Regions from separate parts of the Homo sapiens genome. Here all the other regions are linked to region 6. Evidence: promoter capture Hi-C in 16 types of primary human blood cells and fetal thymus (Javierre and others, 2016). All regions are on one chromosome and are shown on one strand. The core of a region is centred on a gene start or on the middle of the fragment in contact, and the rest is flanking DNA. Distances in the headings are between cores, read along the strand shown. Region 1 overlaps ARHGEF4 (Rho guanine nucleotide exchange factor 4). Region 2 has its middle 22 kb from the start of PTPN18. Region 3 overlaps PLEKHB2 (pleckstrin homology domain containing B2). Region 4 has its middle 2.8 kb from the start of TRE-TTC1-1. Region 5 overlaps FAM168B (family with sequence similarity 168 member B). Region 6 holds the start of GPR148 (G protein-coupled receptor 148). Region 7 has its middle 5.6 kb from the start of PTPN18.

Region 1 (2,851 bases), core at 72-2,571, 290 kb before region 6:
CAAGGAGGGGTCAACATAGGAGAGCAAATCAATATAATACACTAAATTAACAGAATGAAGGAAAAATACATGATTATCTCAATCTATGCAGAAAAAGCATTGACCAAGTTTTTACGATAAAACATTCAATAAACTAGAAATAGAAGGAAAAGTCCTCAATGTGATAAAGGCCACATATGAAAATCTCACAGCCAACATCATACTCAGCGATGGAAGACGGAAAGCTGTATCACTAAGATGAGGAACGAGACAAGGATGCCTGCTTTCTCCACTTCTATTCAACATAGTACTGTAAGTCCTGGTGAGACCAGTCAAGAAAAAGAAATAAAGAAGCTCTTTAGTTTAATTAGATCCCATTTGTCAATTTTGGCTTTTGTTGCCATTGCTTTTGGTGTTTTAGTCATGAAGTCCTTGCCCATGCCTATGTCCTGAATGGTAATGCCTAGGTTTTCTTCTAGGGTTTTTATGGTTTTAAGTCTAACATTTAAGTCTTTAATCCATCTTGAATTAATTTTTGTATAAGGTGTAAGGAAGGGATCCAGTTTCAGCTTTCTACATATGGCTAGCCAGTTTTCCCAGCACCATTTATTAAATGGGGAATCCTTTCCCCATTTCTTGTTTTTGTCAGGTTTGTCAAAGATCAGATAGTTGTAGATATGGGGCATTATTTCTGAGGGCTCTGTTCTGTTCCATTGGTCTATATCTCTGTTTTGGTACCAATACCATGCTGTTTTGGTTACTGTAGCCTTGTAGTATAGTTTGAAGTCAGGTAGCATGATGCCTCCTGCTTTGTTCTTTTGGCTTAGGATTCTGCACAGCAAAAGAAACTACCATCAGAGTGAACAGGCAACCTACAGAATGGGAGAACATTTTTGCAACCTACTTATCTGACAAAGGGCTAATATCCAGAATCTACAATGAACTCAAACAAATTTACAAGAAAAAAAACAACCCCATCAAAAAGTGGGCAGAGGATATGAACAGACACTTCTCAAACGAAGACATTTATGCAGCCAAAAGACACATGAAAAAATGCTCATCATCACTGGCCATCAGAGAAATGCAAATCAAAACAATGAGATACCATCTCACACCAGTTAGAATGGCGATCATTAAAAAGTCAGGAAACAACAGGTGCTGGAGAGGATGTGGAGAAATAGGAACACTTTTACACTGTTGGTGGGACTGTAAACTAGTTTAACCATTGTGGAAGTCAGTGTGGCGATTCCTCAGGGATCTAGAACTAGAAATACCATTTGACCCAGCCATCCCATTACTGGGTATATACTCAAAGGATTATAAAACATGCTGCTATAAAGACACATGCACAGGTAAGTTTATTGCAGCACTATTCACAATAGCAAAGACTTGGAACCAACCCAAATGTCCAACAACGACAGACTGGATTAAGAAAATGTGGCACATATACACCATGAAATACTATGCATCCATAAAAAAGGATGAGTTCATGTCCTTTGTAAAGGGACATGGATGAAGCTGGAAACCATCATTCTCAGCAAACTATCGCAAGGACAAAAAACCGAACACCGCATATTCTCACTCATAGGTGGGAATTGAACAATGAGAACACATGGACACAGGAAGGGGAACATCACACACTGGGGCCTGTTGTGGGGTGGGGGGAGGGGGGAGGGATAGCATTAGGAGATATACCTAATGTTAAATGAAGAGTTAATGGGTGCAGCACACCAACATGGCACATGTATACATATGTAACAAACCTGCACATTGTGCACATGTACCCTAAAACTTAAAGTATAATAAATAAAATAAAATAAAGAAAAAGAATAAAGGACATCCACATTGAAAAGGAAAAATAAAATTATCTGTTTGCAGATGACATCTTCTTACATGTAGCATACCTTAAAGAATCCACAATAAAATTATTAAAGCTACTAAAATTCAGCAAGGCTACAGAATATAAATTAACACACAAAAATCAGTTTTATTTCTGTATATTTGCAATGAGTAATCTGAAAAGGAAACTTTTGAAAATTTCATTACAATAGCATTAAAAAGAATAAAATACTGGCCAGGCATGGTGGCTCACGCCTGTAATCCCAGCACTTTGGGAGGCCGAGGCGGGCGGATCACGAGGTCAGGAAATCGAGACCATCCTGGCTAACACAGTGAAACCCCGTCTTTACTAAAAATACAAAAAAATTAGCCGGCCGTGGTGGCAGGCGCCTGTAGTCCCAGCTATTCAGGAGGCTGAGGCAGGAGAATGGCATGAACCCGGGAGGCGGAGCTTGCAGTGAGCCGAGATCGCGCCACTGCACTCCAGCCTGGGCGACAGAGCGAGACTCCATCTCAAAAAAACAAAAACAAAAACAAAAACCAAAGAATAAAATACTTAGGAATAAACTTAACCAAGGAGGCCAAAGATGTGTAGAATAAAAGCTACAAAACATTGCTGGAAAAAAAAAAAAGCAAAGAAAGACGTCCCATGTTCATAAATTGAAAGTCTTAATATATTTAAGATGACAATACCACCTAAAGCAATCTGTGTATTCAATGCATTCCTATAAAAATCCAATGACTTTTTTTTTTTGAGACAGAGTTTCACTCTTGTTGCCCAGGCTGCAGTGCAATGGCACGATCTCAGCTCACGGCAACCTCCGCCTCCCGGGTTCAAGCGATTCTCATGCCTCAGCCTCCCAGGTAGCTGGGATTACAGGCATGTGACACCACACCGAGATAATCTTGTATTTTTAGTATAGACAGGGTTTCTCCATGTTGGTCAGGCTGGTCTCGAACTCCCAACCTCAGGTGATCCACCCACCTCAGCCTCCCAAAATGCTGAGATTACAGGCATGAGCCACTGCGCCCA
Region 2 (3,077 bases), core at 34-2,533, 350 kb after region 6:
TCATCTTAGAACCACAGAACTCAGCTATCTAGAAGAAAACAGTGTTGTGCGTCTCTCTTCAAAACTACATATATCAAGAAGCTTCAGATTTGGGGAAAACATAAAAATAGCTGATGTTGGAAAGAGTAGGGGTGGGGCATTGGGGAGGAGAAAGAAGGAGCCAAAAATTGGTAGGAGATGGCCATGAAGCATATTCTGTCTTCCAGCAAATGGTGAAGCCATTCTAGAAATACACTAATTACTCCACTCAGTCCTGGGGAGTCTAAATTTCTTTGTAATACATCTCCAACTAGAGGCATTTATCAGACATAAAATCCCCTAGACATCTAACTTGCCTTTCCAGGAAAAAAAAAAAGACAAATATAATTTAACAATAAACTTGTGTAGGAAGACAGACACTAATGGTGAGAGCTGCACATAGTTGGTGTTAATGGTAAATTTCTTGAAGTCTGATTATTCTAGTGTAATCAAAATCCTCCTCAATTCAAATAGCTCTTAGGCTCTCTTGACCCATCACTAGACTGCCTGAAAAGCAGGAAAGTTCAGTCACTTAGAGAACACATCTTAGGCACACTATTCTGTTGCTGGCACATGGGACACATGAGCTGATGAATTGAGTGTGCCTATGGGGTCAGGTTTGTCTAAGCAAAATCAAACGAACAAAGGCCTCTGAATGAGTAGTTGCCAGCGGCCTATGCAGCGACTACTTCCTCCCCACTCACTCAGCAACTTGGGCCACATTTCTGTATTGCAGGGTTGGAATGGACTTTGTTCAGCCTCAGTGAGGAAGGGACCAAACACATTTGTCCCAGGTTCAAGGAGATCATGAGATTCTCCCATTTTCCAAATGTCAACACTGGGGATGGTGTGTATACAGTAGGCACATTTCTGGGGAAGTCGGCTATCTCACCAAAATATTGCAAGTAATTGTTGATATTCTGGATGCTGACTGCTTAGAGGCATCTGCTGTACATATGACAATGCAAATTTGAAACATTGGCTGGCAGTGGCAGAGCTACTGATCCCAAACCCTGGTGGGGCTCTTTGACTGGTTTGAAGGTCAGGGTGGAGAAAGTTCAACTTTAGAGCTCTTTCCCACCAAGCTTTTCTTTTCTTATTAAATTCAAAAAATGTTTATTGATCAACAACTCAGTGCTAAACCTATGGGAGAACCCAAAGACTTAAAAACCTGGGGTCCTGCTCGCCAAGACATGTTAAATGAGATAATATAAAAATTCCCATTTCTGGTACCTGAAAAAGGCTTGGGGCTGGAGAGGTGACATCGTTCAGCTTGCTGACCTCATCAATCATCTGTCCCCAGACAGGCAGACAGATCTGTTGGAGAAGTCATCCTCAAAAGTAAGGCTGCAGAGCCAGGGTCTGTTTGAGAGCAATGGAATCCAATGGAAATCACTTCTCAAGTACACTTTATGTTTGGACATTTCTCAGCTCTTAAAGCTTCTGACATTGATTGGATGCTGGTATGGCTTTATAAACACTTGTCTTTTTCATACACTCTTAAGGATTCATGTCTCCTCGACCATTTTGTATATTCTAAAATAACTATGCCATAAAATAAATGAAACAATTCCCACTTACTGCATAGTTTATTCAGATATTGACCTTATGTTTGGGCTGAACTTAGCTATAATTGAACAAAGAGTGATAAGCCATCGTTGCTTAGTGATATTTTCTATCACCTTCGCTGAGGCTGCAGTTGGCATTCTGCAGGCTCTTTCCAACAAGACCATTTCTCTGGTACACAACTGAGCAATTACACTGACTGAGCTGAAATCCACAAGCATTTGCGGAGCACTGCTCTGTGCAGGGGAAGCTCCAAACACCTAGGTGGCAAAGAGGAGCAAGACCCATCCCTGACCCATAGAACCTGCCTGTAGCCCCCGGATCCTGCCGGCCCAGGGCAGGGGTGTGATGAAGTGGACACCAAGTGCTCTGAGGAGCAGTGTGAGGGAAGAGAAATTCTGGAGAGGGAGAAGGCCCCACATCCCCAGGGCAGGTGAGATGTGAGCTGGGTCTCCCGGGATGAAGGAGACTGGGCCGAAGGAGAGGGTAGGGAGGAGCACTCCAGTAAGGCAGTGAAGTTTGGTGGAGCACTGACCGGGTGGGAGGCAGGAGAGGAGGTGGGAGTAGGGCCTGGAGGGTAAGGTTACCAGGGGCTGAGAAGCCATTAGACTCTCAGCAGCAGCCCTGAGCTCTTGAGCCTGCCCTTTGTTTTTTATCAAGCCCCCCCCCCCACCATGTTAGTATCAGGGAAGCTCAGGGGATCCCTATTGCAAGTGGCAATTCCTCACCCTCCCCTTCTGCTTCATGAGGTCAGATATCAGCTGCCCAATATCCAGCAGCAACTTTTAATACCATGTTTTGTTTCTGAAGGTAGCAAGGACATGTAAGCTTGGGAGTATGTGAAAAAAGCACTGAATCGAGAGTTAGGAAACAGAAACAAAGTTTTCATCAATTATGTAAAGCAGCTCTCTGCCCCTGAGATTGGAAACCAACCTAACCACAAATGGGGCCTAGTTTTCTCTCAGGACGTCACGGTCTAAGACAAACAAATGCCATACAAAGGAGAGAAGTCAAGGCAGGGGATGTTGAAAGCAGAAAAGGAGAAGTAACTAACTCCTGTGAAAAGGAGGCATCATCAGATCCGATCCTACTTGGAAACTGACAGCTGAGCCTTCACTGTTCCTACTGGGTCAGAAACAAAGCAACACGAGTATGGTGCCTGCAACGGTCCCATTGACCCCCACATCCCATGGGGGTTTGTGAGAGCCCAGACAGATGCTGTGCACCCAGTGGGCTGCACTGCAGAAGAGGAGCCCTGAGCTCAGGGCATATCCAGAAGGAAACATCACCTGCTGCAGTGTCCTATTGCAAACACAGCTCTGAGATGCCCAGTTCAGGAGCGGCCAGGCCTTGCATTCCTGGATACCCAGTGTGTGAGTTTCCTGTGGCTGCCATAACAAATGACTATAAACCGTGTGGCTCAAAACATGTTTATTCTCTTACAGTTCTGAGGTCCCAAAGCCTGAAACTGACGGGTCAGCAGGGTGGTTCCC
Region 3 (2,914 bases), core at 169-2,668, 380 kb before region 6:
GGAAGCCAAGGTGGGAGAATCGCTTCAGCCCAGGAGTTTGAGACCAACCCAGCAACACAGTGAGACATTCTCAACAAAAAAATAAGAAGTTAGCTGCACATAGTGGTGCACGCCTGTAGTCCCACCTACTCGGGAGACTGAGGTAGGAAGATCGCTTGAGCCCAGAAGGTAGAAGCACAGTAAGCCATGAATGATCATGTCACTGCACTCCAGCCTGGGCGACAGAGTAGGATTCGGTCTTCAACTGGCAGGGGAGGAAATTCCCAGAAAGGCAGCTGTGCAGAAGGACTGGGGAGGAAAAAAAAAAAAAAAAACAGTCCAGACTGGAGCAGGACCGAGTACTACAGGGGAGGAAAAAAAGTAACTGACAAATTTCCTACAAGTTTTTGACTCACTGGTGGATTGAAGAGTTTTACAAGGCAGCAAAAGTCTTCTATGATCAAAAGTCAAAAGATTACATGTAAATCAATAGCAATTTTACCATATCCACAAAGATAAAATACTATTTTTTTTTTTTGAGACGGAGTCTCACTCTGTCACCCAGGCTGGAGGGCAGTGGCGCGATCTCAGCTCTCTGCAACCTCCACCTCCCAGGTTCATGCCATTCTCCTGCCTCAGCCTCCCGAATAGCTGGGACTACAGGCAACCGCCACCACACCCAGGTAATTTTTTTGTATTTTTAGTAGAGACAGGGTTTCACCGTGTCAGCCAGGATGGTCTCGATCTCCTGACCTCATGATCCACTTGCCTTGGCATCCCAAAGTGCTGGAATTACAGGTGTGAGCCACCACACCCAGCCAAAATACTATTTTAAAAAGTGCCAAAAAAAGGTGAAAATAGTTGTCTATAGTTTAAAAAGGGGGTGGACAAGAGATTGATATATTTTTTTTTATTCTAAGGTTTAAAGCACTATTTGGTTGTTTTTTTTGTTTGTTTGTTTTGAGACAGAGTTTCGCTCTTGTTGCCCAGGCTGGAGTATAGTGGCGCGATCTTGGCTCACTGCACCCATCGCCTTCCAGGTTCAAGCGATTCTCCTGCCTCAGCCTCCCAAGTAGCTGGGATTACAGGCGCCCACCACCACGCACAGCTGATTTTTGTACTTTTAGTACAGACGGGATTTTACCACGTTGGTCAGGCTGGTCTCAAACTCCTGACCTCAGGGGATCCACCCGCCTCAGCCTCCAAAAGTGCTGGCCTCCAAAAGCTTGAGCCACCACGCTCAGCCTATTTGGTCTTTCAATCTATGTACATGTATTATTTTGATAAATGTAAACATGTAAACAATAACCTGAATTATCTTCAACTATACCAAAACAAAAAAACCAACCTAAATTAATCTACCTATTTGAACCTTCCAACAGTGCTCTGCTTTCGTTTTTAAATTGGGGAGAGAAATTTAGAGAGTATCTTTAGAAACCAAAAATCATGAAGTATGATTTTGATCACATTTTGTTTTGTTTTTGTAGAGACGAGGTTTCACTATGTTGCCCAAGCTGGTCTCGAACTCCTGGGCTCAAGGGATTCTTCCATCTCAGCCTCCCAAAGTTCTGGGATTACAGGTATGAGCCACTGCAGTCAGCCTATCATATGCTTTTGAAATTTCACAGAACCCAGTGTTTGGGTATAAGCTTTAGAGTTAAAAGACCTATGTTCAGATCCTGACTCAATCGGACAAGTCACGTTTCCAAGCCTGATCTATAAAACGAAAATTCCCACCACCTACTTGACAGGATGTTCGGAAAATTGGGTGAAATAATATGTAAGTAGTTGGCATGGTGCCTCACAGTTACTAGAACTCGATAAATGGTAGCTGCTTTGACAGCAATTATTACTATTTACTACTATTATTACTATTACTTATTTTCCCCCTTACCAAAATTTGCCGAAAATATTCTAGAACAAGCTTGTCCAACTCATGGCCCCAGCCCAGGTCAGCTTTGAATGCAGCCCAACACAAATTTGTAAACTTTCTTAAAACGTTATGAGATTTTTTTGCAATTTTATTTTTTAGTGCATCAGCTATCATTAGGGTTAGTGTATTTTATGTATGGCCTTCTTCCAATGTGGCCCAAGAAAGTCTAAAGATTGGACAGCCCTGTTCTAAGAACAAGGACATCAAGCTGCTTCTCAAATGGCTCAGAAGACTTCTGTTTGATTGCCTTAGCATGCTGAATTTCACACCACTCCATAACTTAATTCAACATTTCACTATTTATATCCTGGAGCAAAACTGAATGCATAAACTAAAACTCATCAGATAAACACTAAGCCCTAGCTGTTGGTCTCTAGAGAATAAAACACCAGCAAACTAGCTGCAAAAGAACATTATTTTTATGCCAATAAAACCTATGCAAAGCTTTAAAATGTAAGCCATATTCAACAATTTAAATTATTTTAAATTTGAATTTGTATCTCTTTGAAAGCATTGAATCGAAACAGACAACAGATGGACAAAAAATACTGCCTTTGGAATCTGACAGTTCTAAGCCTGAAGCCTACTTTGCCTTCTACTCACTAGTATGACCTTCAGCAAAATTCTAAACCTCTCTAAGCCTCAGTTTTCTTACCTGTATGACCAGGCACAACCAATTACGTCATGGGGTTACTGTGACAATTAAAGGAGGTATGTCCAAACAGCCCTGTAGTAGATGGTCCAAAAGTGAGAATTGGCCAGGCGCGTTGGCTCACGCCTATAATCCCAACACTTTGGGAGGCCAAGGCAGGCGGATCACCTGAGGTCAGGAGTTCGAGACCAGCCTGACCAACATAGTGAAACCCCATCTCTATTAAAAATACAAAAAATTAGCCGAGCATGGTGGCGCACGCCTGTAATCCCAGCTATTTGGGGGGCAGAGGCAGGGGACTCCCTTGAACCCGGGAAGCGGAGGTTGCAGTGAGCCGAGACTGCGCCATC
Region 4 (2,884 bases), core at 212-2,711, 390 kb after region 6:
CCCCCACAGTCTCATGGGTTTTAGCTCCAGGAATTCTATCTTGTTCTTGGGTGAAAATCAGAGAAAAATCTGCTGGAGCTTCTGGCAAGGGGAGGAAAGTGTAACCACTTTGAAATGCACACATAACGTCCTGTCCTCTTTAACAAAGGCTTAAAGTCAGAGCAACTACCAGAGCCTACCCAACCCAAGGGAAGGAAAATATCCACCTCCAGTCTGCTTTAGTCTTCCAACTCACATTAAAAAAAAGCTGAGAAGCACTTGTGAGTGGCACAGCCTAGGGACCACTGGTTCACAACAAGACTGGGCCCTGATCATGGGTTTATAGACCACTCCCTGCTGTCCCCACATCTTACTGCCACATCACTTAGGGCTCCTATATATTAACAAGGGATTGCAGCTGAAAGAACTGCAAGGCCCAGAATTTATGTAAGAAGCAGTCTCTAGGGAAACCCAAAGGCAACAGGGGATGCAAAAACAAGGACACTAGAGGAAATTTTAGCCTCTGACATTTACAGCTACAGCAAACAAGAAACACAGCCTCCCTCCTTAGTCAGATAAATATAAAACTTCACACTAAAAGCCTATTTACCTCAGTTCCTCTCACCTTATGCATGTTTGGCTTTCAACAGAAAATTACAAGATGGGAGATAAAACATTTCTGCAGCAGAATGCCTCCATCAGCCAGTTGCCTGCCTGTGGAATTTTGGAAGCCCCATGGCCTTCCTTTATTCCATTCCATCTCTGTCCCTTAGATTCCAGGCTGCCATGTTTCTACTGCTATCAGAATCTCAAAACCTTTGTCTCCTGCATAATTCATGGGGTTTCAGCCAACAGACAAAGGGGCCCTCCACAGATCTTTCCTTGGTAACCCCATCTCTATTTCTGGCTTCTGCTGAGGTGGTGGAGTGGTTCCATGAGTCACATGTCCAATCTCTTTAGCAAAATGTTATCCAGCCACACCCTTGGTCCTCTTTCCAGAGTACACTTTCTAACAGTGAGTTTCCTAATTTTTGTAGTCTTTGTAATCTGGACATCCCGAGAGCCCCTAAATCATTAAGTGCCAGCTCCTTTCTGCTTGACTGTTCTTTGCTCGATGTAACTTTTTCCTCTCACAGTTCCTATTAGCAGCAAGCAGGTTGTACCTTCAACACTTCCCTCAACTAAATATCCAAGCGTTTAATATCCAAGCTTATTATTTATCATGTCTACTTTCCACATAACAACAGAACACAATTTAGTCAAGTTCTCTACCACTTTATAACAAAGATCTCTTTTACTCAGCTGTCAAAGAATATGTTCCTCATTTCTTTCTAAGACCTCACCAGAGGCACCTTTAACATTAGGTTTCTACTAACATTCTGTTCATGACAATATATGTATTCTCTAAGAGCATCAGTCCTCAACCTTTTTGGCACCAGGGACAGGGGCTGGGGGGCTGGGAGGATTATGGGATGGCTTCAGGATGAAGCTGTTCCACCTTAGATCATCAGGCATTAGTTAGATTCTCATAAGGACTGCACAGCTTCGATCCCCAGCATGCACAGTTCCCAATAGGGTTCATGCTCCTATGAGAATCTAATGCCCCGCTGGTATGACAGGAGGCGGAGCTCAGGCGGTAATGCTGGATCACTGGCCGCTCACCTCCTGCTGTGTGGCCTGGTTCCTAACAGCCAGGGACCTGTACCAGTCCTTGGCCTGGGGGTTGGGGACCCCTGCTAAGAGGATAGAAGCTTCTCTACAGCTCTTCTCACTTCCTTCTGAGCTTTCATTAGAGTTACTGTCCACATCTCCATCAACTGTTTCCTTAATGGATTCTAGGCTTTTTCTATCACGTGCCTCAAACTTCTTCCAGCCTCTCCCTGATTCCAAAGCTCCTTCCACGTTTTAGTTATTTGTTACAGAAACATCCTACTTCCTGGCACCAGTGTCTGTATTGGTTTCCTAGGCTGCCACAGTAATTTAACACAAACTTCATAATTTATCCTCTCACAGTTATGAAAGTCAGAAGTCTGGAATCCAGGTGCTGGCAGACCTGTGTGTCCTCTGAAGGCTCTAGGGAAGAACGCTTCTCTGCTTGTCCTAGCTTCTGGTGGTTCTGATTGTCCCTGGCACTCCTTGAGTTGTAGCTACATCGCTCTGATCTCTGGCCCCATCCTTCACGTGGCCTTCTTCTCCATATGTATCCACGTGTCCTCTCCTTCTCCTGCAAGAACAGCAGTCACTGGATATAGAACCTACTCTAAGCTGGGTGTGGTGGCTCACGCCTATAATCCCAGCAATTTGGGAGAGCGAGGCAGGTGGATCACCTGAGGTTGGGAGTTGGAGACCAGCCTGACCAACATGGAGAAACCCCGTCTCTACCGAAAATACAAAATTACCTGGGCATGGTGGCGCATGCCTGTAATCCCAGCTACTTGGGAGGCTAAGGCAGAAGAATCACTTGAACCCAGGAGGCGGAGGTTGCTGTGGGCCGAGAGAGCGCTACTGCACTCTAGCCTGGGCAACAAAAGTGAAACTCCATCTCCAAACAAACAAAACAAAACAAAACAAACAGACAAAAAAAAAAAAAAAAAAAAAAAAACACACACAGAAAAAAGAGCCTACTCTAATCCAGTACAAATCACCTTAACTTAATTACATCTGCAAGATTCTATTCCCAAATTAAATCATCTTCTGAGGTTGTGGGTAGACACGATATTTTTTTTCTTTTTGATGGGGAGACACTGTTCAACCCAAGACAGAGCACGTGGAGGGACAAACTGCAAAAACAGTGGATTCCTATAACAAAGTTTTAAAAATGCTGCCTTGACCCACTTTTGAGGCCCTGGCTAGAGGTCAGTTTCCCTTCTTGGGCACCCGATTAAGTTCATACTTGCAACCACTG
Region 5 (2,841 bases), core at 294-2,793, 360 kb before region 6:
CGCTTTGTCGCCCAGGCTGGAGTGCAGTGGCACGGTCTGGGCTCATTGCAAGCTCAGCCTCCTGGGTTCACGCCATTCTCCAGCCTCAGCCTCCTGAGTAGCTGGGTACAGGCGCCTGCCACCGTGCCTGGATAATTTTTTTTTTTTTTTTTTTTGTATTTTTGGTAGAGACGGGGTTTCACTGTGGTCTCGATCTCCTGACCTCGTGATCCGCCCTCGTCGGCCTCCCGAAGTGCTGGGATTACAGGCGTGAGCCACTGCGCCGGCCTCTTTTTTTGAGATGGAGCGTCCATGTCGCCCAGGCTGGAGTGCAGTGGTATGATCTCGGCTCACTGAAACCTCTGCCTCCTGGGTTCAAGTGATTCTCCTGCCTCGGCCTCCCAAGTAGCTGGGACTACAGGTGTGCACCACCACCGCTGGCTAATTTTTGTATTTTTAGTAGAGACGGGGTTTCACCATGTTGGCCAGGCTGGTCTGGAATTCCTGACCTCGTGATCTGCCCACCTTGGCCTCCCAAAGTGCTGGGATTACAGGCGTGAGCCACCATGCCCAGCCAGGTCTTTCTTTTTTCTTTCTTTTTTTTTTTTTTGAGATGGAGTCTCGCTCTGTTGCCCAGACTGGAGTGCAGTGGCGCCATCTCGGCTCATTGCAAGCTCCGCCTTCCGGGTTCACACCATTCTCCTGCCTCAGCCTCCCCAAGTAGTTGTGAGTGGCTAATTTTCTTTTTGTATTTTTTTTTAGTAGAGACAGGTTTCACCGTGTTAGCCAGGATGGTCTCGATCTCCTGACCTTGTGATCCACCCGCCTTGGCCTCCCAAAGTGCTGGGATTACAGGCGTGAGCCACTGCGCCTGGCCAGGTCTTTCATTTTAAAGATAGAGTTTTCTTCTGATTATGATTTGATTTTCAAGTTAGGAATTTTTGCTGTCATCTTTTTAAAGGTAATCTGACATTTGTCTATTCTAATGCAGGTGTCAAACCACCCATAAGAATTCTGACAGTTGAGTCATTTCAAATGGGAAACTAAAAATGTGGTAAGCTCGGCCCGGTGCAGTGGCTCACGCCTGTAATCCCAGCACTTTGGGAGGCCAAGACTGGCGGATCACCTGAGGTCGGAAGTTCGAGACCAACCTGACCAACGTGGAGAAACCCCGTCTCTACTAAAAATACAAAATTAGCTGGGTGTGGTGGCACATGCCTGTAATCCCAGCTACTCAGGAGGCTGAGACAGGAGAATCGCTTGAACCTGGGAGTCAGAAGTTGCGGTGAGCTGAGATCGCGCCATTGCACTCCAGCCTGGGCAACAAAAGTGAAAACTCTGTCTCAAAAAAAAAAAAAAAAAGTGGTACGCTCTAGATCCAGCCTTGGGTTTGGGTTTCTTAGTCCACAGCAAATTAGACTGGAAAGTTGGTGGTTGCAGGGAGATTTTAGTAGCACTAACATTTCAGGTAGATTGGTGATGGTGTGTTTTTTCTTTAGTTTTGCATTATGCAGAATTGAAAATGCGGCAGTACAGTGCATAACCTTATATGCAACATCTTGATGTAAAGATTATTAGCATTTACATAATTTCTACTTGATGTAGAGATTATTTGCTCTTTTTGTAGAAATATTTTAAAGTATAGATGTATCATTTTCGACTTTATATACTTTATTGTATCTTTACAAATTTATGTAACTATACATAATCACAGTACTGTTACCAGGATTAAACATAATTGTTTCATACCAGCTGATACCCAGTATTCAGTCGTGTCCCAGATATCTTTAAACTCTGTTTACAGTTGTTTCAGTCTAAATCGAGTCCAAACAAAATTCAGCTATTGCTTTTATGTCTATATCTATTTTAATTTAGAATTATCTGGCCTTCCTCCTCTCCCGCCCCCTTTTCCCCCCACCATTGCCTTATTGAAGAAACTGGGTCATTTGTCCTCTGGAATGTCCCACTTTTGGGGTTTGTCTGATTGTTTCATGGTGTCATTCAGCATATTCCCTCCTACTCCTGCGTTTCTTGTAAACTGGAAGTTAGATGTAAAGGCTCCATTTGATTTTTTTTTCCCCCCAGACAGAGTCTTGCTCTGTTGCCCCATCTGGAGTGCAGTGGTGCGATTTCAGCTCACTGCAGCCTCTACCTCCCAGGTTGAAGCGGTTCTCATGCCTTAGCCTCCCGAGTAGCTGGGATTACAGGTGTGTGCCACCACGCCCAGCTAATTTTTGTATTTTTAGCAGAGACTGGGTTTCACCATGTTGCCCAGGCTGGTCTCGAACGCGTGGTCTCAAGTGATCCGCCCTCATCGGCCTCCCAAAGTGCTGGGATTACAGGGATGAGCCACTGCAACCAGCCAAGTAGAGTTTTATTATTATTGGTCTAGGCTATAAGTCAGGTCATTATGGAAGGAGAGCCTCCTAACATCCTTCAGTACTTCATTTGAATTTGCAGTTTTTGGCTGTTAGGAATAATGCTGTTACAAATGTTCATGTCCAACTGTAGGTGTAGCATGTGTTTTCACTTCTCTTGGGTATGTACCTAGGAGTGGAATTGTGGGGTCATGTGGTAACTCTGTTTACCTCAGAGTTGCTCAGGAGCTTCTTTGCCTACCAGAGGACATCTCCACTCAGGCCTGTATTTAAGGGTCTCCACTTGGTGGTTGTACCTAAGCTGTGTCTCCACAATCATCTATTACTGATTCCCTACATAGAGCCTAAGCTCCAAACAAACTCAGTTGCTTAATGTTCTTAAAATGCATCTTGCTTGTTCTCATTTCTGAGGCTGATTTGATCCTATCCATTGTTTATTGGAAATGCTGCCCTTTAATTATTATTATTACTATTTTTTGAGACG
Region 6 (3,130 bases), core at 275-2,774:
TGGTCCCAGGACTCAGCAGCTCTGCTTGCTTACCTCTGTGGTTCTCACTGTCAGCAACATTTTGGCTTCTGTGTGTTGGTCAGCAAGGATGCATCCACAGTGGCCAGGGAGGGTGTGCAGCAAGCCATTGGAGGGACGCAGATCAAGGCTTGACTTAGACCAGAGCCCTGCTTGATTGCCTTTACTTGCTTCCGTTTCCAAGTAGGATTTCAGTGTCATAAGAGAGCTTTCTCTACTTAAAAACTGTCAAAATGGTGAAAATCATCAGTTGAGGTCTTCTGAAAGGCCCAATTCCACTATTATATTGTGCTGTTCTAAGAAGTTAGTCATAAGTGGACACTGCTGCATTCAACATATGATTTTTAACCTCAGCTTGCCAGACTGTGGACTCAAGAACTCTAGGAAATGGTAAAGATGGCCTGGTGCCTCCTGGATGGGAGGTGGCCCCGGACCATGCCCAACAGCTGCCGGTAGCGGAGCAGGTACAGGTATGTGAGCATGGCACGGGGAAGCATCATGAGTACCTCACTGTTAGCTGCCAGGAGCCATGTGTGAGTCCCAGAGTCAATGTGGTGGTACCTGGTCAGCACCATGTCCAGGGAGAACACCACCCCTGTGCTCACGTACAATGTGATCAGCACTGAGTGGATCAGCAGGGTGCCCCTGGCCCGGGAATAGCCCTGCCCCCAGATGCCTGAAGTCTTGGCCTCTGCATAGATCCTCCAGAAACAGTTGGCAATGAGAGCTGTGCAGAGGAACAGAACGCACAGAATGGAGGTGTAGGTAACAATGACCAGGAGGCCACATCCCGGCTGGGTGCCCATGCTTGGTGGTAGGATGTATGAAGCTCCTTGCTCCTCCAGCTGGGCATCCTGCCACTTGCTGAGCCAAATAAGGAATGTGGGGAAGCAGCAGGCCACCAGCCAGATGAGGGCCACTGCCTTCCAGGCAGCCCCATGGGACATGAAGGAGAGGTAGCGCAGTGGATGGATGACTGCCAGGTAGGTGTGCAGCACAATGGCGGTGAAGGACAGGATGGTGCTGGTGCAGGCGGCGAAGACAGCATCAGTGAGAATGCCACAGGCCATGCGGCCCAGCTCCCAGCCACCCAGGCTGCTGGAGGAGATGAGCATGTGGAGGAGAATGTAGGCCAGGTCTGAGAGCAGGATGTTAGCCGGGAGCAGGTAGTGGGGCTCCTGTCGCAGCCGTTGGTTCCGCAGGATGGTCACCAGCAGCAGGGGGCTGACAGCCAGTGTGGCTGCAGCCAGCAGGCTTGAGGGAAGGAAAAGCCAGTACAGCATGGAGCTGGGCACCCTGAGGTCCCCCAGGCCCAAGGAAGTGTTGCTGGCTGCTTGGGGCATGCAGGGTGTCTTGCTGATGAGCTGGATCAGGGCCGGCCAAGCTGTAGTGCCCACAGGGCAAGGTGCCAGCTCATCCCCCATGCTTCCTGGCAGGGATGGCTGGCTTTGTCACAGGTTGTTGATTCTGCACCTGCCTTGAGTGTTGATCTGCCCCACAGGGGTCCTGATGGCACCACTCCTCTGTAGAGATGCCAGGCTCGGGCAGGCCTTAGGAATGACTGCTTAATAAAGATAAAAAAACCAATGTGAATTCAGACTCACACCTGGCTTCCTGCATTCACATCTCTGCAACTGTGCAGCTGCATGTGCGTGGGTAGACATAACAGATCATCCCACTGCCACCATTTTGCAGTCACTGACCCCTCCAGAAGTGTCCCCTATCTCAGTGGCCCCCAAACCTGTCTGCTTGGCTCACAGGGAGTGTGCAATGGATTCTCACCACACTGGATTATATTCCGGGCTGCCCTCCTAGAAAGGAAGGAGCAGCTGTCTGGAACTAGGATCGCTGGGCTGTAGACCTGGTCTGACCTCTGTCGAGCTAGAGGCTCAGCAAATTGGACCAGGCTGGAGGGGCCTGGGCGCACTCACATTTCCTCACAGAGCCTTGGGTATGGTCTCCAGCTCAGGGTGACCCTGTGCATGCGTGTGAGTGTGACTCCTACACCCCTTCCACTCAGGGCTCCATGTGAGTATTCGGTGCCCCCAAAATCTCAGCTGACTTGTGGGGTCGCTGTGTGGTAGAAACGTCCCTTCCTCTGGGGAGGAGGAGGCCTGGCAGGCAGAGACCTCATAGGAGCTAGTGGGGAGGAATGGAAGGCAGGTTCCCCAGGCACCTGGCTTGTCGGGGGTGGGGTGAGCTCAGTCAGAGCCAGTGGCCAGGGTGGCTGTTGGTGTTTGGGGATCCAGTTCAAGTGAACAAGCTCTCCCGCTCTCTCGAGGTGTTGGCTGCGTGGCCTTGAAAAGCTTTGTTCCAGTTTCCTTATCTGTGAAACACGAATGCCAACCACACTGACCTCAGGGAAACGTTGCGGAAGCCCAGAGGTAAGGGACTCAGCACAGTGCATAGCCTGAAGTAAATGCTGAGTCAATGTTAGCTCTCCCACCTACAGCATCCTCCGAGGCTCGGTCCCCTCTGCCCACAGATCCCTGTCATCACTGCAGAACGGGCTGCACTTGGCTGCTGGCAGCCTGAGACCCCTGCCCAACACCCACCGCCGGCCTGGCAGACTGCTCCAGAAGGCAGGAGCCGCGTGGGAACAGGCAGGATATTTTTAGGGCCAGGAAGAGGCAGAAATTTCAGACTCTGGGTGTGAGACCACGTCCACTGCTGCCCAGGGACCATGCTCGTCACAGCCCGAGACCACGTCCACCGCAGCCCAGGGACCACGCCCAGAACCGCCCCTGACCACGTCCGCCGCAGCCCGGGGACCACGCCCGCCGCAGCCCGGGGCCACGCCCACCACAGCCCCGGACCACCATCATCGCAGCCCTGGGACCACGCCCTCCATAGCCCAAGGCCACGCCCATCACAGCCAAAGACCACGCCCAGAACAGCCCCGGACCACGCCCGCCGCAGCCCGGAACCGCGTCCTCCTCTGAGAGCCTGTTACGCAGCTGCCAGGAGCAGCAGCGCCTGCGCCTTTTTGGCCGATTACGGTACAGAAACTAAAGGTGGTTCTGAGAAAGCCCATCACCCCTTCCAGAGAAACCGCGATGCCATGGGGCGGACCCCGCCTCCCTGCCCCAGCTGCCCTGGCCTGCACTCCCTA
Region 7 (3,182 bases), core at 91-2,590, 380 kb after region 6:
ATGCTCATACCAACTTTTCCCCCACTACTCCAGGGCAGAGCCTGGGCATCTGCATGGCCCAGAGCAGGCCCCCGATGTGCCCCTGGAGGAAATAAACTCGGGCAGACAAGTGCTCTAACAGCAACGCTGGCAGCACTCTGGGACTTCCATGACTGACAGGCCGGGTCAGGCTGCTGCCTCCTCAGCCTGCAGTTTCTACACCTGATGCTAGCCCAGCTTCAGCATACTTCCTCTGTATGCGGTGCTTTATTTAGAAAAGACCAACTGGCCATGTTATTGTCAGCAAATGCCGGCCAGGGTCCTGCACAGATGAGGGCCGTGTCTGTGGGCCCTGATTGCACAGCCCATGTGTCATGGCTGAGTGCAGTTCCCAGGACAACCAAAGGGATGCATGGATCCGTGTGCATTGCTGTCTGCCCATCAATTATAACACCAGAGAGAAATGAGTGTGCATCCATGCTTGGGTGAGTGTAAACACCTCTGGAAGGATTCCTATAATGAGGGGGCACCCTCACTGCTGCTGCTGACCAGGGTGTTCTGAAGTCCTAGGCAATGCAGGGTGGCAAGGAGAAAGGAGGGAGGGGCCCATCAGAAATGCTAACTGGCATATAGCATAATCAGCTACAAAGTTTTAGAAACTCTTATGAAAAACTGTAAGGACTTATGAGAAAATTTAATAAGGTAGCTAGTTAAAATACACTAACTAGGCCAGGCGTGGTGGCTCATGCCTGTAATCCTAGTACTTTGGGAAGCCGAGGTGGGTGGATCACGAGGTCAGGAGATCGAGACCATCCTGGCTAACATGGTGAAACCTCATCTCTACTAAAAATACAAAAAATTAGCCAGGCATGGTGGCGGGCGCCTGTAGTCCCAGCTACTTGGGAGGCGGAGGCAGGAGAATCGCTTGAACCCCGGAGGCGGAGTGAGCAGCGATTGCGCCACTGCACTCCAGCCTGGGCAACAGAACGAGACTCCATCTCAAAAAAAAAAAAAAAAGAAAAAAACTACACTAAGTACTTACACACACCAGTTTAATGAATTTGAAACTGTAATGCAAAAAGCTTCCATATTAATTTCTTGAGAAATAGGCACCAAGTTTGAACCCCTAATAAATTAATGGAGCTATGCAATAATACTGCCTACTGACATCACAAAAACGACTCCCAGGCAGGCACTGAGATTCCTAATGAAAGAACATAACACCCTCATCAAGTATTACTGCTAAAAAAATTTGCAGGTATATCTGATTGAGCCTCTAGATCTCAATATTAATTCAGAGAAAACACAACGGCAGACAAAAATGTTAAATGACACCACAGTGTTAAGATCAGCAACATCCAGACGGTGAAAGGTCTATTAAGACAAACCAGTTTCCTAACTGAGTAAACTGCAAAGAAACAGACAATCTTATAGAGAGACTCAAGACTTAACACACAAATGCTCATAGCAGCATTGTTCACAATGGCCCAAATGTGGCAAACAACCTAAATTTCATCAACTGATGGATCAAATGTGGCATATAATAATACCCCATGTATAGGGACATACATGGAATATTATTTGGCAATGAAAAGAAATGAAGTGCTGACATAAATAAATTACACTGTGAATAAGCTTAGAAAACATTATGCTAAGTGGAAGAAGCCAGTCAGAAAAGACGTATTATTCCATTTACATGAAATGTTCAGAAACAGCAAATCTATAGAGACCAAAAGTATTAATTAAAAAAAAAAAATCCTGTTCTAAGGCTGGGCACAGTGGCTCACGCCTGTAATCTCAGCACTTTGGGAGGCCGAGGTGGGCAGATCATGAGGTCAGGAGATCGAGACCATCCTGGCTAACACGGTGAAACCCCGTCTCTACTAAAAATACAAAAAATGAGCCAGGTGTGGTGGCAGGCACCTGTAGTCCCAGCTACTCGGGAGGCTGAGGCAGGAGAATGGCGTGAACCCGGGAGGCGGAGCTTGCAGTGAGCCGAGGTTGCACCACTGCACTCCAGCCTGGGCGACAGAGCGAGACTCCGTCTCAAAAATAAAATAAAATAAAATAAATAAATAAATCCTGTTCTAATGTCTCAGCAGAGTCTGGCCAAAAGTAGACTAGTGGTTGCCAGAGGGGCTGGGGCCTGGTGGGAGGGAGGGGATTAGAGTGACAGCTAATGCGTATGGGGTTTCTCTCCGGGGCAGTGGGGGCAGAGGGGGACAAAAAATGTTCCAAAATTAGATTGTGGTGATGGTTACACAGCCCTATGAATATGATTTTTAAAAAATCATTGATGCACAGGGACGGGCGCACAAGGCTGTGAGTTCAACCTGCGCTGTGAATTGTGTAATATGTTGACTATCGCAATAAAGCTGTTTTTAAAAGACTTGTCAATTATTTGCAATGAATGGACCTGATGTCGATCTTAGTCGAAACAAGCACACTCTAATCAAGGCAAGCTGAACATTAAGTGGATATCTGATGATATAAAGGAATGATCATTGATAATTTTATGTGTAATAATTTTTTTGTTGTTGTTGAGTCCTTATCTTTTAGAGATATACATGGAAATACATATGGATGAAATGCTCTGATGTCTGAGATCTACTTTAAAAACTGGTGGAGTGGATACAGGGAGTGGGTGAGCTATGAAGACTGGCTCACATCAAAACCGGCTCAGCGACTCACTATACCATCTTCTCTGCTCTTGTATGTTTCAAATTTTCCACAACTAACAAGATTTAAAACAATCAATCTAGAGGTGAACAAATGCATCTATAAGGAGAGCAGACCCATCACAGAAAATACATAACACACAAGGCCAGTAAGTATTTGAAAAGAGGCACAACCTCCAGAGTAACTAAAGAAATGCAAATGCAATTGGGGAAACATTTTGCACCTAGTGCGTGACAGAGGTTAAAACCTCTGATGATGCCCAGGGCTCACCTGGGGAGCAGGTGCTCACATCTTGTGATGGTGCCTGTGGAGAGACACAACCTCTACTATCATTTTATTTTAGTGTTTTCTTTTTATTGAGACGGAGTCTTGCTCTTGTTGCCCAGGCTGGAGTGCAATGGCGTGATCTTGGCTCACTGCAACCTCTACTTCCCGGGTTCAAGCGATTCTCCTGCCTCAGCCTCCTGAGCTGCTGGGATTACAGGCACCCGCCACCATGCCAGGTCAATTTTTTGTATTTTTAG

The links. Contacts are between HindIII fragments. The CHiCAGO score rates a contact against its expected background, and 5 or more counts as called.
Region 1: a fragment that was not itself captured here is called in contact with the fragment with the promoter of GPR148 in region 6 in 1 of 17 cell types (naive CD8 T cells); the score reaches 5.7 in naive CD8 T cells.
Region 2: a contact is called between a fragment that was not itself captured here and the fragment with the promoter of GPR148 in region 6, in 1 of 17 cell types (total CD4 T cells). The highest score is 8.6, in total CD4 T cells.
Region 3: a contact is called between a fragment that was not itself captured here and the fragment with the promoter of GPR148 in region 6, in 1 of 17 cell types (naive CD8 T cells). The highest score is 7.1, in naive CD8 T cells.
Region 4: a fragment that was not itself captured here is called in contact with the fragment with the promoter of GPR148 in region 6 in 6 of 17 cell types (non-activated CD4 T cells, naive CD8 T cells, total CD8 T cells and 3 more); the score reaches 10.8 in non-activated CD4 T cells.
Region 5: a fragment that was not itself captured here is called in contact with the fragment with the promoter of GPR148 in region 6 in 2 of 17 cell types (naive CD4 T cells and non-activated CD4 T cells); the score reaches 5.5 in naive CD4 T cells.
Region 7: a fragment that was not itself captured here is called in contact with the fragment with the promoter of GPR148 in region 6 in 6 of 17 cell types (total CD8 T cells, naive CD8 T cells, naive CD4 T cells and 3 more); the score reaches 9.0 in total CD8 T cells.

Annotation. Positions count from the first base shown.
Region 1 is chr2:131,019,134-131,021,984 of GRCh38, reverse strand. All of the region lies in intron 4 of ARHGEF4 (Rho guanine nucleotide exchange factor 4), which reads right to left. Among named protein-coding and RNA genes, the nearest start is that of SMIM39, 15 kb to the left of the region's middle. The HindIII fragment of the contact is 3,953 bases long and covers 1-2,851 here.
Region 2 is chr2:130,376,636-130,379,712 of GRCh38, reverse strand. No RefSeq gene overlaps it. Among named protein-coding and RNA genes, the nearest start is that of PTPN18, 22 kb to the right of the region's middle. The HindIII fragment of the contact is 355 bases long and covers 1,106-1,460 here.
Region 3 is chr2:131,107,718-131,110,631 of GRCh38, reverse strand. The region is part of intron 1 of PLEKHB2 (pleckstrin homology domain containing B2); the gene reads right to left. Among named protein-coding and RNA genes, the nearest start is that of PLEKHB2, 3.8 kb to the right of the region's middle. The HindIII fragment of the contact is 424 bases long and covers 1,207-1,630 here.
Region 4 is chr2:130,332,982-130,335,865 of GRCh38, reverse strand. No RefSeq gene overlaps it. Among named protein-coding and RNA genes, the nearest start is that of TRE-TTC1-1, 2.8 kb to the left of the region's middle. The HindIII fragment of the contact is 542 bases long and covers 1,191-1,732 here.
Region 5 is chr2:131,087,466-131,090,306 of GRCh38, reverse strand. The region is part of intron 1 of FAM168B (family with sequence similarity 168 member B); the gene reads left to right. Among named protein-coding and RNA genes, the nearest start is that of FAM168B, 4.6 kb to the left of the region's middle. The HindIII fragment of the contact is 7,532 bases long and covers 1-2,841 here.
Region 6 is chr2:130,727,464-130,730,593 of GRCh38, reverse strand. It overlaps GPR148 (G protein-coupled receptor 148), which reads right to left and starts at 1,524. Exons shown (of 1, transcript NM_207364.2): 1 at 258-1,524. The coding sequence starts at 1,442. The coding sequence ends at 399. RefSeq lists enhancers at 1,795-2,373, 2,374-2,953 and a silencer at 2,722-2,891. The HindIII fragment of the contact is 6,760 bases long and covers 1-2,326 here.
Region 7 is chr2:130,348,899-130,352,080 of GRCh38, reverse strand. No RefSeq gene overlaps it. Among named protein-coding and RNA genes, the nearest start is that of PTPN18, 5.6 kb to the left of the region's middle. The HindIII fragment of the contact is 553 bases long and covers 1,064-1,616 here.